Regions from separate parts of the Homo sapiens genome. Here region 2 is linked to region 1. The links are contacts of gene promoters, found by promoter capture Hi-C in blood cells and fetal thymus (Javierre and others, 2016). All regions are on one chromosome and are shown on one strand. Each heading gives the region's core, a stretch centred on a gene start or on the middle of the fragment in contact. The rest is flanking DNA. Distances are from core to core; before and after follow the strand shown.

What was found. The method cuts DNA at HindIII sites, captures the fragments that hold promoters and counts their contacts. A CHiCAGO score of 5 or more calls a contact.
Region 2: a contact is called between the fragment with the promoter of SLC25A33 here and the fragment with the promoter of SPSB1 in region 1, in 10 of 17 cell types (fetal thymus, M1 macrophages, non-activated CD4 T cells and 7 more). The highest score is 8.8, in fetal thymus.

Annotation. Positions count from the first base shown.
Region 1 is chr1:9,289,753-9,295,799 of GRCh38, reverse strand. It overlaps SPSB1 (splA/ryanodine receptor domain and SOCS box containing 1), which reads right to left and starts at 2,906. Exons shown (of 3, transcript NM_025106.4): 1 at 2,729-2,906. RefSeq lists silencers at 1,972-2,261, 2,802-2,871, 2,942-3,021, 3,072-3,241. The HindIII fragment of the contact is 6,551 bases long and covers 1-5,185 here.
Region 2 is chr1:9,536,242-9,542,288 of GRCh38, reverse strand. It overlaps SLC25A33 (solute carrier family 25 member 33), which reads right to left and starts at 2,824. Exons shown (of 7, transcript NM_032315.3): 1 at 2,542-2,824. The coding sequence starts at 2,597. RefSeq lists enhancers at 444-943, 1,969-2,098, 2,765-3,059 and silencers at 2,169-2,528, 2,549-3,068. The HindIII fragment of the contact is 15,144 bases long and covers 1-3,872 here.

The sequences.
Region 1 (6,047 bases), core at 1,657-4,156:
CATGAACACCGTAAGAATCAGAGGTTTCGCTGAATTTGAAAATGCGTCTGCAGGCAAGTTTCCATCCACCCAGGAGGAGGGGCAGGTGCAGGAAGGGAGCACGGCACACACCATGGGGGTGGGAGGGCAGCGCTGGCTTCCACGGGCTAGGCCCCCACCCCATTCCCCAGCTCTGGTGAAGAAATTCAACATCTGTGATGATTCCAAGGGGGTGAGATTCTGCAGCAGCCCAGAGGGACCCACTGAAGGGTGGATCCAGCCTTACTACAGCAGCCCAAGAAACGGCCTCACCCAGCTCCAAAGTGACATCACCAGGGCCCCAGGCAGGCCCACCCCTTCCTAAGAGCCCTGAAACCCACTGATTCTTCCCAGGGCCAGGTCTCTCTTAAGCCGGCATGGCACCCGCCTTGCTCCCTGCTCGGGGCTGTCTGAGCCACTGGGGCCAACATGCTACTGCTTTTGTTTTCTCTGCTGCTAGGGTGGTAGCCAGACTGGAAAAGGAAGACTTGTAAAGTGATTGCCTTAGTCCACTCCACACCTCCCCAACCGCACGCGCGCACACACACACACACACACACACACTCACACTCTCACACACACACACACACTCCATCTACTGGGTAAAGTGCTCCCTGCAGAAGAAAAGCAGCTGTAAGAGAGCAGGAGTGCTTTAAATGATCTAATCCAGCCCATCACTTCACAGCTGGGGAGACACGAAGTGCCTGGCCCATGACCTCAGTGCTGGGGACAGTAACCAAGAGCAACAGTTTCAGGACTGGGGAGTCTTGGTCCACAGCCCTGGCTGTGCAGTCTGGGTAAGTGAACCGCCCTCTCTGGGCCTCTCTAGGACAGGCTGGCCTAGACAGTAAGACAGGACTTCCCTGACTCCAAAATTCCTCAGTGTGGAGAGACCACCTGTGCTGCCCATGCTTAGCCCAGGGCTTTCCACCACTGGGAGGGGGGTCTGAGGAGGGGGACAGGGCAGAAGGGAGAGGCCCCCATCCCCTTCCTTGCTTGCTGTTCTCCTCACACCCCACGATGAGAAATGAAGTTGTGGGCCCAGCCCCCCCAACGAGAAAATTCTTCCAAGGACATCAAACCTTAGTCACCAGGGATGGCGCTTTTACCATGAACACCTGTTAAAACTCAACTCATGACCAGTTTCTGATGCTACAGACTGGAGTGTTTAATTAAATATTACTCACTCAGGAAGCAGCCCCTGCCAACTCACCCCCAAACTGTGTAGTTCATTTTCAGAGAAATGGAGAGAGGAAGAGCCTGCGCTCTCCTCGGGGGCACCAGCAGGGCTTGCCTAGTGGGGTGTCTGTGGCCCAGCATGCCCGGCTATCCAGAACCAAGTAAAGAAATCACCATGAGGAGCAGTACCTAGGAACCAGAGGGCCCCCTGGATGGTCCCCACACACACTCACAGAGAAACACACACAAAGACACACAGACACACACTTGGAGACACACAGACACTCACACATACACAGACGCACTCAGAGACACAGACACAGAGACAGACACAGAGACACGTGTGGACACACAAAGAGACACAAAGACACACACACGCAAAGACACACACAGACACAAAGACACAGAGACACACATTTGCAGAGACAGACACTCAGAGACACAAACTTGCAGAGACACACACCCAAAGACACATACACACTCACACACAGACACACACAAAGACACACAGACATACACAGAGAGGCACACACAAATACACAAAGACGCACTCAGACACACACACACACACACAGTCACTTAGAGTCTCAGGCACACATTGACAGACACACAGACTCACACACACACTCAGAGGCACATAAATACACAGATGCACTTAGAGACACACTCACACACACACCCACATGAACACACAGACACACTCATACGCAGGCACATATTCACAAGGACATGCACAAACACACACGCAGATGCACTCTCAGAGACACCCGCTCTTCCTGCAGACCCGCACCCTCCTCTCGGGGCCGTCCCGTCCTCACCGGAACCTGGACGCCACCGAGCCCAGTACACGCCCGGGGACGGTGACCCATCCGCGGTTCCTCCCGCGGGCCCAGGCCGCCCTTGTTTTTCTGATTTAATCGATTTCCTGACAACCCTCCGGCTCTCCCTCCGCTGCTGGGAGAAGCCGCGGCGGCTCCGGGGCGGCGGGGAGGGCGGCGCTCGGGTGTCCCCGGCAGGCTCCCTGGGGGAGGCGCTGCGGGAGGGTGGGGGCGCCCCGACGGGGGACCGGGCCGCGCCGCCAATCCCGACTCGGACTGGCGGGAAAAGCGAAACTAACTCAGCCGAGCGGGGTCCCGCTTTCCCCGGGCTAAAGGGGGGACGGGTCGGCGGCCCCGGAGCGCCCCAGCCCCTCCTCGGGACCGCAACTCGTTGCGACGGTCCCCGCGCCCCGAGACCCCCGCCGCGCCTCGCCCCGGGACCCCCTGCCCTGCAGCGGCGGCAGCGCGGGGCGGGCCTGGGCCCCTCTCCCAGGAGCCGCGGCGAGGGAGGCGCCCCCGGAGCCACCGCGGGAGGGGCCGCGCCCCGAGTCCCCATCCCGTACTCCACCCGCTCCCCCGCGCCCGGCCCCGCGCCACCCACTCGGTCCCCCAGCGGCGCGATCCCCGCGTCCGCCCTCGCCCGGCCCCCCGCGCCTCCCCCTCCCGGGCCGGTCGCCCACCCATCGGGGTCCCAGGTGCCCCGCGCCGCCTACCGCGCCCGGGGTGCCGCCGCCGCCGCTGCTCTCCAAGGCCGAGGAGGCTCGGGCGCCCGGGCCGCGCCCGCCGCAGGGAGCGAAGTCGCCTCCTCCCCGCGGCCCCGGCCCCGGCGCCGGCGCCTGGAGCCTGGTTCCTGCTGCGAGCGCGCAGGCTGCCCGAGCGCGACTTCTGTGCGGAGGAGAAAAAGCAACCGACGGCTTTAAAGTGAAAAAAAAGAGAAAAGCGCCGGTGGGCGGGGCCGTCCCTGCCCCGCCCCGCCCCGCCCCGCCCCCGACCTCGGGCGCACGGACCACTCAGCACTGCAGGGAAGGCCGGGGGCGCGGGGCGCGGGGCGCGGGGCGCGTCAGCCCGGCGCTGGTTCGGCCGCCCCCTCCGCCCCCTTAGTCCGCAGCCCTCTCCCGAGCCGCCGCCCTGGTGTTGCCGGCCCGAAGCTCGGGTCCCTCCGGAGGCGTCTTTGGGAAACGCGTGGCGCAGGGCCTGGGTTGCAGCCGTGGGAGGCTGGAGTGGGGGCGGGGGTCTTACGAGAAGGAGAAATCTTCGCGGAGAGTGGGGTTGTCCCAGGAACCCCGAGCAAGGCCTCGCCGGCCTCCTCTGAAGTGCCCAGCGGGGACGAGTGGGCAGCCGCCGGGGGTCCAGGGAGCCTCCTGCAGCGCTGTTTCGGCCGCTCGCGTTTCGGTGCCCACGGGGACGGGGGCCTCGGACCTCGAGACCCTGAGGGCGCGGGCACCTGGCATCCGCAGGGCTGCTCCCTGAACAGGTCCCAGCCTCTGGGGACTTGTCCTGTGGCTCTAGCTCGTTCAAGGAATTTTCCTCCCCCTTCCCCGAACAGAGCAGTCACTTGGGACTGGGAAGATTTTAAAGACTTTGCTGTTTTGAGAGCAAAATCTCCTGGCATTCCCCACCCCTCGCTGTGTAGTGTCCATTGAAAACGGTGAGGAGTTAGCCTTTCTGGGGGAGCCGAAACAAATAGCGGGGCTTCCGTAGTTACTGTGTCTTTACCATAACCCAGTACAGTGAGGGTGGGACTAATGACACACTCACTGTAAAGGCGAGGAAACAGTGCCTGGCCCGAGGCCAGCTGTCCAGAGCTTGGAACCCAATTGAACTGTGAGATTACAAAGTTTGATGTCTCTCATTTTACGGTGCTGAAAATCAGTTTGGTTTAGCTTTGTTTGAACTCAGAATAGGATTACGGAGACTCAACCAACTGCCCTGGGCTGGGCGGGCCTGAGTGGGCATTCTGACTTTCCAGGTGCCAGCGGTTTAGGAATGTTGAACCCAGACTAGTCAGGTGGGCAGCCATGGCCAGCAGCTTAGGGGTGCTTCCCATTTAAAAGATCACTTGAGGCTGGAGGTGGTGGCTCTCACGCCCTTAATCCCCACACTTTGGGTGGCTGAGGCAGGCAGATCACTTAAGCCCAGGAGTTCAAGAGCAGCCCGGGCAACAGAGCAAGACACAGACTCTGCACAAAAATTAAATAATAATAATAATAATTGGCCGGGCATGATGGCTCACACCTGTAATCCCAGCGCTTTGGGAGGCTGAGGCAGGTGGATCACCTGAGGTCAGAAGTTCAGGACCAGGCTGGGCTTGGTGGCTCACACCTGTAATCCCAGCACTTTGGGAGGTCGAGGCGGGCGGATCACGAGGTCAGGAGATGGAGACCATCCTGGCTAACACGATGAAACCCGTCACTACTACAAATATAAAAAATTAGCCAGGCGTGGTGGCGGGCATCTGTAAGTCCCAGCTACTTGGGAGGCTGAGGCAGGAGAATGGTGTGAACCCGGGAGGCAGAGATTGCAGTGAGCCGAGATTGCGCCACTGCACTCCAGCCCAGGTGACAGAGCGAGACTCCGTCTCACAAAAAAAAAAAAAAAAAAAAAAAAAGAAGTTCAGGACCAGCCTGGCCAACATGGCAACACTCCATCTCTACTGAAAATGCAAAAATTAGCTGGGTGTGGTGGTACGTGCCTGCGATCCCAGCTACTCGGGAGGCTGAGGCAGGAGAATCTCTTGAACCCAGGAGGCAGAGGTTGCAGTGAGCCGACATCGCACCACTGCACTCCAGCCTGGGCAACAGAGCGAGACTCCATCTCAAAAAAAAAGAAAAAAAAGGTAATAATAATTTTAAAAGAGCATATGACCCCCTCCAGCCACTCTGCAGTTTGAGAACTGTTGTTTACTTGGGAGACTGGTGAGAGCCTCTGGGACAGGCCCATGGGGTGCAGCCCACGTCAGTCATTGCTGAAAATCACAGCTGCCTCTGATGGGTTCATTTCTCCTTGGGAGAGTAGCCCTGTTTGGTGGATTATTCACTGTGTGTGTGGCATCTACCAGACACTGGCATCTCATGGGGCTGGTGCTACGGCCACGTGGCCTGGGGCCATGGTGTTGTCAGCTTTGCTAAGAGGAACTCCACCAAGCCTCACCTCTTAACATCTGGGAAGCTTCCAGGGCAGACTGGGGCACTTTGGAGCTAGAGACCCAGCTTTGATGTTTAAGGCCCTGAAAGACAGTTCCTGATGAAAAGTCTTCAGCACCCCCACCCCACCCCCCTTCGGCGTTAATCTGGAAATCTCAGCTCTTGATCCAGTTGAATAATTAGACCCTGCTGACCTAAATTTCCCAGAAGAACCCCTGGGGAGTGGGCCTTCTCTCCTCCAGGACGCTGGGCAGGTTGGCCGGATGATGGAAGGCTGGTCAGCCGGCAGTGACTGCTGCAGCATGGGGCAATGTTGAGCAATCCTGGAAGCCAGTTTATGTGTCAGAAGGGCTCAGAATCACCCTAGCATGCTGATACTATTGTTTGTTAAAAAAAGATACATAATCTTGCAACATTGTGACATAAGCTGATAGATACTATCCAAAAATTTGAAGGGTGACTCAGGACTTATACAAAGATCTGTGTACTGCAGGGGTGAGTCGGGAGGGAGGTGGCTCTGGGCTCCCAGTGGTGTCATCCCCAACCCCCTCCCCAACTCCACCCCACCCCCACACACATTTTATCACTTGCATCAGCACAATTTGCTCATGTCTTTAATCTGTCTCCGGGAAATGGTGAAGAGAAACTTGATAGATGGTGAATTAGCATCAGCTGCTTTTTCTGATGATGGTTCTGAGCCTTGAGCTCTTAGCACAGAATCCTGCTGCCCTCACAAGTGTTAAAGGCTGCCATCTTCTCTGAATCCCTTTTGCTGATTGGAGCAAATGTGCAAAGGATTTGGTAATAGACAAACCCAATGCAACCCCCAGCTCTGCTATTCATCAGCTGTGTGACCTTGAGCAAGTTACTTAACCTTTCTGAGATTTCC
Region 2 (6,047 bases), core at 1,575-4,074, 250 kb before region 1:
GTACTCCATCACAAGGTATAAGGCTGGTGCCCTAGGAGGAGAATCTGGCAGCCAGAGGGCACAGGGAAGGGTACAGAGGGAGATTCAACAAGACAGGGCCATCCATCTCACAGTGAGCCTCAACAGAGGCTGCTCCAGCATGCAACTCTCCTGGTTTGGAATACAAAGAAAAATTGTAAAAGACCACCTCACTGGCCGGGCGCAGTGGCTCATGCCTGCAATCCCAGCACTTTGGGAGGCCGAGGTGGGCAGAGGGGGTCAGGAGATCGAGACCATCCTGGCTAACACGGTTAAACCCCGTCTCTACTAAAAATATACAAAATTAGCCGGGCGTGGTGGCGGGCACCTGTAGTCCCAGCTATTCGGGAGGCTGAGGCGGGAGAATGGCGTGAACCCAGGAGGCGGAGCTTGCAGTGAGCCGAGATGGCGCCACTGCACTCCAGCCTGGGAGACAGAGCAAGACTCCGTCTGAAAAAAAACAAAAAGCAAAAACCCACCTCACTAAAAACAGTAAGTCAAAATCACTGAGCAGAAATTCCTTTTTTTTTTTTTTTTAAATGATCCTTCTTGGCTTAAAAAACGTGTGAGACAAAAAAAAAAATGGCCAAGTTGTTTAAAATTCCCAAGAAAGACAAATTTATATAGAGTGGCTTAATTTAAGAATGCTTCCCCCTTGTGTTACTCTGAAAGGAAGTCTCTGCCGGGCATGGTGGCTCACGCCTGTAATCCCAGCAATTTGGGAGGCCAAGGTGGGCCATCACTTGAGGTCAGGAGTGCCAGCCTGGCCAACATGGCAAAACTCCGCCTCTTAGCAAAAACACAAAAAAATTAGCTGGGCGTGGCCGGGCGCAGTGGCTCACACTTGTAATCCCAGCACTTTGGGAGGCCGAGGCGGGCGGATCACGAGGTCAGGAGATCGAGACCATCCTGGCTAACACGGTGAAACCCCGTCTCTACTAAAAATACAAAAAGCTGGGCGTAGTGGCGGGTGCCTGTAGTCCCAGCTACTCGGGAGGCTGAGACAGGAGAATGGCGTGAACCCGGGAGGCGGAGCTTGCAGTGAGCTGAGATGGCGCCAGTGCACTCCAGCCTGGGCTACAGAGCGAAACTCCGTCTCAAAAAAAAAAAAAGAAAAAAAAAATTAGCCAGGCTTGGTGGCGGGGCCTGTAATCCCAGCTACTCGGGAGGCTGAGGCAGGAGAATCGCCTGAATCCGGGAGGCGGAAGTTGCAGTGAGCCCAAAGATCGCACCACTGCACTCCAGCCTGGGCGACAGAGGAAGACTCCCTCTCAAAAAAAAAAAGGAAGTCTCAATGGAGACATGGAGGGAAGGGTTGCAAGGGAATGAATGACAGGGAAGAGATGAATGAGAAACTCTTCCAATCTATGAAGACCCACCGAAGTTTTTGGTTAAAGTAACCTGGTGACTGCCCACAATACAAGTACAAAAAAAGCTCAGGGACGCTTTCATCAGTCATCTTCCAAGATAAGTTTCTCAACCATTGTTTGTTGTAAGGAACATATCCAGGTAGGAATCCAGGCTGCAACTACTCAAGCCAAGATGATCATCCCAGAATAAACTATTTTATGCAAAATATCCTACACTCAAAAATTCCTGTGCCAGGCCGATGAGGTCCTCAAATTAATACTCCAAATATCTGTAAGACTCCGAAAGGACCCCAAGCCACCGGCTGTGATAAAGGAAAAAAGAAAATTACTAATACTCAAAAATATTTTACCTTCTATTCTCGGCGGGAGGTGACAAGGGGAGGTGGCGAGGGGTACCATCTCCCTTCCTAACCGCAGAACTCAACCTCCTAAAAATGCATTGTCTCCGCTGGAAAAAAGGTGCCTGACCATAGACCTAATGCAGCTTTCAAAACAAGGAACACCTTACAATTCTGCGGTCTCTGGCGTTGGAAGCGTCTACCAGCCGGCGAGAAGTGTCTCAACACACCTTCCAGACCTCATATGAGTTCGGGTCCCTGGCTTAGCCACCCCGCGTGTGGCCGCAAGCATCACCGTTCACCAGCACCACCCAGGCCTTGCTGACGTCCAACGTCCGCAGACCTTTTTGCCCGTCCGGATGACCTCCCGCGCTGCCCTGAGGAACCTCGGGCACACCCGAGCATCAGCGATCCTACCACGGGCTCTGAGGCGCTGCGCTTCGGGAGAGGCCCCAGGAGAAGGGGGCGGGGGAGGGGGGGCCGCGCCACAGCGTCCAGGCTGGACCGCCGCCGAGCACCACTCACCGGCCACTGACTCTTCAGAATGGGGAAAAGCTGGGGACGCCGCGGGGAGGACGGGCGGCGGGGCACAGCCGCCCTCGGGGCTGCGGTCAGGACGTAGGGGTGAGGAAGGCCCGACCCCCTCCCTCGGCCCTGCCCACCAGTCCCCGACGCCGGGACTTCCTCCTCCCGAGCGCCGGCGCCGTAGCCCGGGGAAGGCCGGTAACCGCCGCGGGAGGCTGGGGCCGCGCCCGGGGCGAAGGCCGAGGGGACCGCAGGCGGTGGGGCGCGCGCGGCTGGGCCCGGGAACTCACCCGCCGGCGAAGAGGTGAAGCAGCGTGTTCTCCTTCTGCTGGCCGCCCGTCGCCATGGCCGCGCCGGCTCCGCGGCCCGTCGCCGCCCGGTGGCGAGAGCGCGTGGCGGCTCGAGGGATGCGCGAGGTCGCCGGGTCTTGTCTCCCCGCTGCCCTCAGGGGGCTGCCGGCAACGCCTCCATGCGCGCGCGGGCTCCAACGCCCGGCTCTGCTCGGCCCGCGCCTTCCGCGGCGTGGCCGCCGGCGCCTCACCGGCCTCTGCGGCGCGAGCCCGGCGGGGAGCTAGAGCCCGGCGCGCGGCCGTCACGTGGCGGGGGCCGGACCGTGACGTCACGGGCGCGCGAGTCTGGGGCGGGGCGTGACGGGGGTGTGGACCCAAATTTCGAGCGCTCATTGGTTAGGACGCGGATGTGGGCGGGGAGGTTGCGCAGTTCTGGGGCGGAGCCAGCCCCGAGCGAATGACTGGGGAGAGGGGCTGGCCTAGGCCGGAGCGTGGAGGCAGTGGAAACTGGCTGTGACTGACTGGTCCTCGCTCCTCAGAGAAGCCTCGCGAGGCCCTAGGCCTTGCCTTATTTTAAAAGTTTACTTTGTGATATTTACGTGTGCAAAAGGTGTACAAATTACGTGTTACATCTCACACCTCTGTACTCACCACCCCGTTTAGGGAAACAAAAACATAATCTAAAAATCTATAATCTAAACAGCCTTAGATAATCAGTGAGGCCCTCACGGTGGCTCACGCCTGCAATCTCAACACTTTGGGAGGCCGAGGCGGGCGGGCGGATCGCCTGAAGCCAGGAGTTACAGACCAACCTGTCCAAGACGGCGAAACCGTGTCTCTACTAGAAATACAAAAGTTAGCCGGACGAGGCGGCGCACCCCTGTCATCCCAGCTACTTGGGTGGCTGAGGCTGGATAATCGCTTGAGCCCGGGAGGCGGGGGCTGCAGTGAGCCAAGATCTTGCCACTGCACTCCAGCCTGGACGACAAAGCGAGACTCTGTCTCAAATAATTAATAATCATTATCATTATGTGGATTTTTGATCTCCCTATAAGTAGTAGTATATGCTGCGTATATTTTGCAGTATGCTTTTTGCTTCTTTTCTGATCATCTCCAGCCCAGACCTAGATATCCAAACTGCTTCTCTCAGCCTATGTCACTGGGTCATTGTCATACTCAACCTGACATCTTCTAATCTCCAGGTCTCCCCCAGATGGAGACTTTCCTGGCCGCCTTTGCAGCGCAGTCTGTCACACGACTATAGAACCAGGGCTTCTGCAGTTAGTTTGTTGATTTATTTAAGTTGTCCTTCCCATACAGGAATGTAAGCTTCAGGAGAGCAGGGACCTTATTTCTTTTGTTCACAGTTGTTCCTGACACAGTACCTGCCACCTAGTAATGCCCAAGGAGCTAATGAATAAAGGTCCCAAATTGAACTTATCATTCTTCCCCTCCCCCAAACCTGCTCTACCTCTATTTCCTGTCCTGGCAGTGACACCACTGACTGCACAGGCACCAGTGCCAGAAGCTTTCCTGTTACCTTGGACTATGTCTCTCTGTCTGTCTCTCTCTCAGCAGACCACCATTCACCTGCAGAACGTACCAACCCTTTCTCTTCCGTCTCTCAGAGCTCCGGAAAGCTGTACCTTGACCAGAACAAGCAGTTAGATGTCCTGTGTGTAAACATAGAGAGCTTAAGTAGGAGGGAATTGTGTGGAAACGTGGGAGCTAGCCAGCCAATCTGTATTTGATTGCTGGGACTCTTTAAATAAAAACAGCTCTTAGGAGCAGTCCTCCAAAATGCAAATACAGTGGTTACTATTAAAGCCATTGCTCCCAGGCCTAGGAGAAGGGGAAGCCATACTAGGGCATGAGATATCTGAGAAAAAGAAGTAAAGAAAACCCAGCACAGTGGCCCACTCCTGTCATCCCAGCACTTTGGGAGGCTGAGAAGAGTGGATGACTTGAGTCTAGTAGCTCAAGACCAGCCTGGATAACGTGGCAAAACCCTGTCTCTACAAAAGAAAAAAAAAAGTAAAAATAAATAATTTTTTATTTTTATTATATGTTTTTTTTAATTTTTATTTATTTATTTTGAGATGGAGTCTTGCTCTGTCACCCAGGCTGGAGTGCAGTGGCACGATCTCGTCTCACTGCAACCTCTGCCTCCCGGGTTCAAGCAATTCTCCTGCCTCAGCCTCCTGAGTAGCTGGGATTACAGGCATGCACCACCACACTGGGCTAATTTTTGTATTTTTAGTAGAGACAGGGTTTCACCATGTTGGTCAGGCTGGTCTCAAACTCCTGACCTCGTGATCCGCCCACCTCAGCCTCCCAGAGTGCTGGGGTTACAGGCGTGAGTCACCGCACCTGGCCTATTATTTTAAGAGGAGGCCTCATTCTGTCACCCAGGCTGGAGTGCAGTGGCACCATCTTGGCTCACTGCATACTCCACCTCCCAGATTCAAGCGATTGTCCTGCCTCAGCCTCCTGAGTAGCTGGGATTACAGACATATGCCACCATGCTTGGCTAATTTTTGTTGGTTTTTTCTTTTTTTTTTTTTTTGACACGGTGTTTCACTCTTGTTGCCCAGGCTGGAGTGCAATGGTGCGTTCTCGGCTCACTGCGACCCCCACCTCTTGGGTTCAAGCGTTTCTCCTGCCTCAGCCTCCCGAGTAGCTGGGATTACAGGCGCCCGCAACCATGCCTGGTTAATTTTTGTATTTTTAGTAGAGACAGGGTTTCACTATGTTGGCCAGGCTGGGCTCGAACTCCTGACCTCAGGTGATCCGCCCGCCTTGGCCTCCCAAAGTGCTGAGATTACAGGTGTGAGCCACCACGCCTGGCTTGAACCTGCTATTTTCCCTGACTAGGATGGCCCCCTTCCTAGACTTCTAGAGCTCCTCTGACACCAGCTCAGGCATTGGCCATGGCCATGTACTGGGTATACAACAGAGATTCCAATAGATAAAAACCTTTAATGAAACATTGGCAATCAAATCCAGCAATATAGAAAAAGGATAATACATCAGGACGAAATGAGAGATGCCCAGGAATTAGAGATTGGTTTAACATTCAAAAAATCAATCCATATAATTCAGCATATTAAGAGAATAACAGGGACACATGTTCCCAGGACCTCCTGGGGCTGTGTCAACAGCAAAAAAAAAAAAAAAAAAAAAAAAAGGAAAAAAAGAAAAAAAAAACAGTGAAAGAGAAAGAGAGAATAATGGAAAAAAACCTGATGACCATGTAAATTGATGCAGAAAAGCATTTGAAAAAACTGAACACCTATTCATGAAAAAAAGCTCTCAGCAAACAAGGAACAGGAGGGAATTCCTCTATCTGATATAAAGCGTCTACCCCAAACCTATAGCTAACATCACACACAACATTAAATAACTGACCACCTGCCCCTAAGATTGGCAATAAGCAAAGATATTTGCCGTTACCACTTACTCAATGTTGTGCTAGAGGCCCTAGTCAGTGCAGTAAGGCAAGAAAA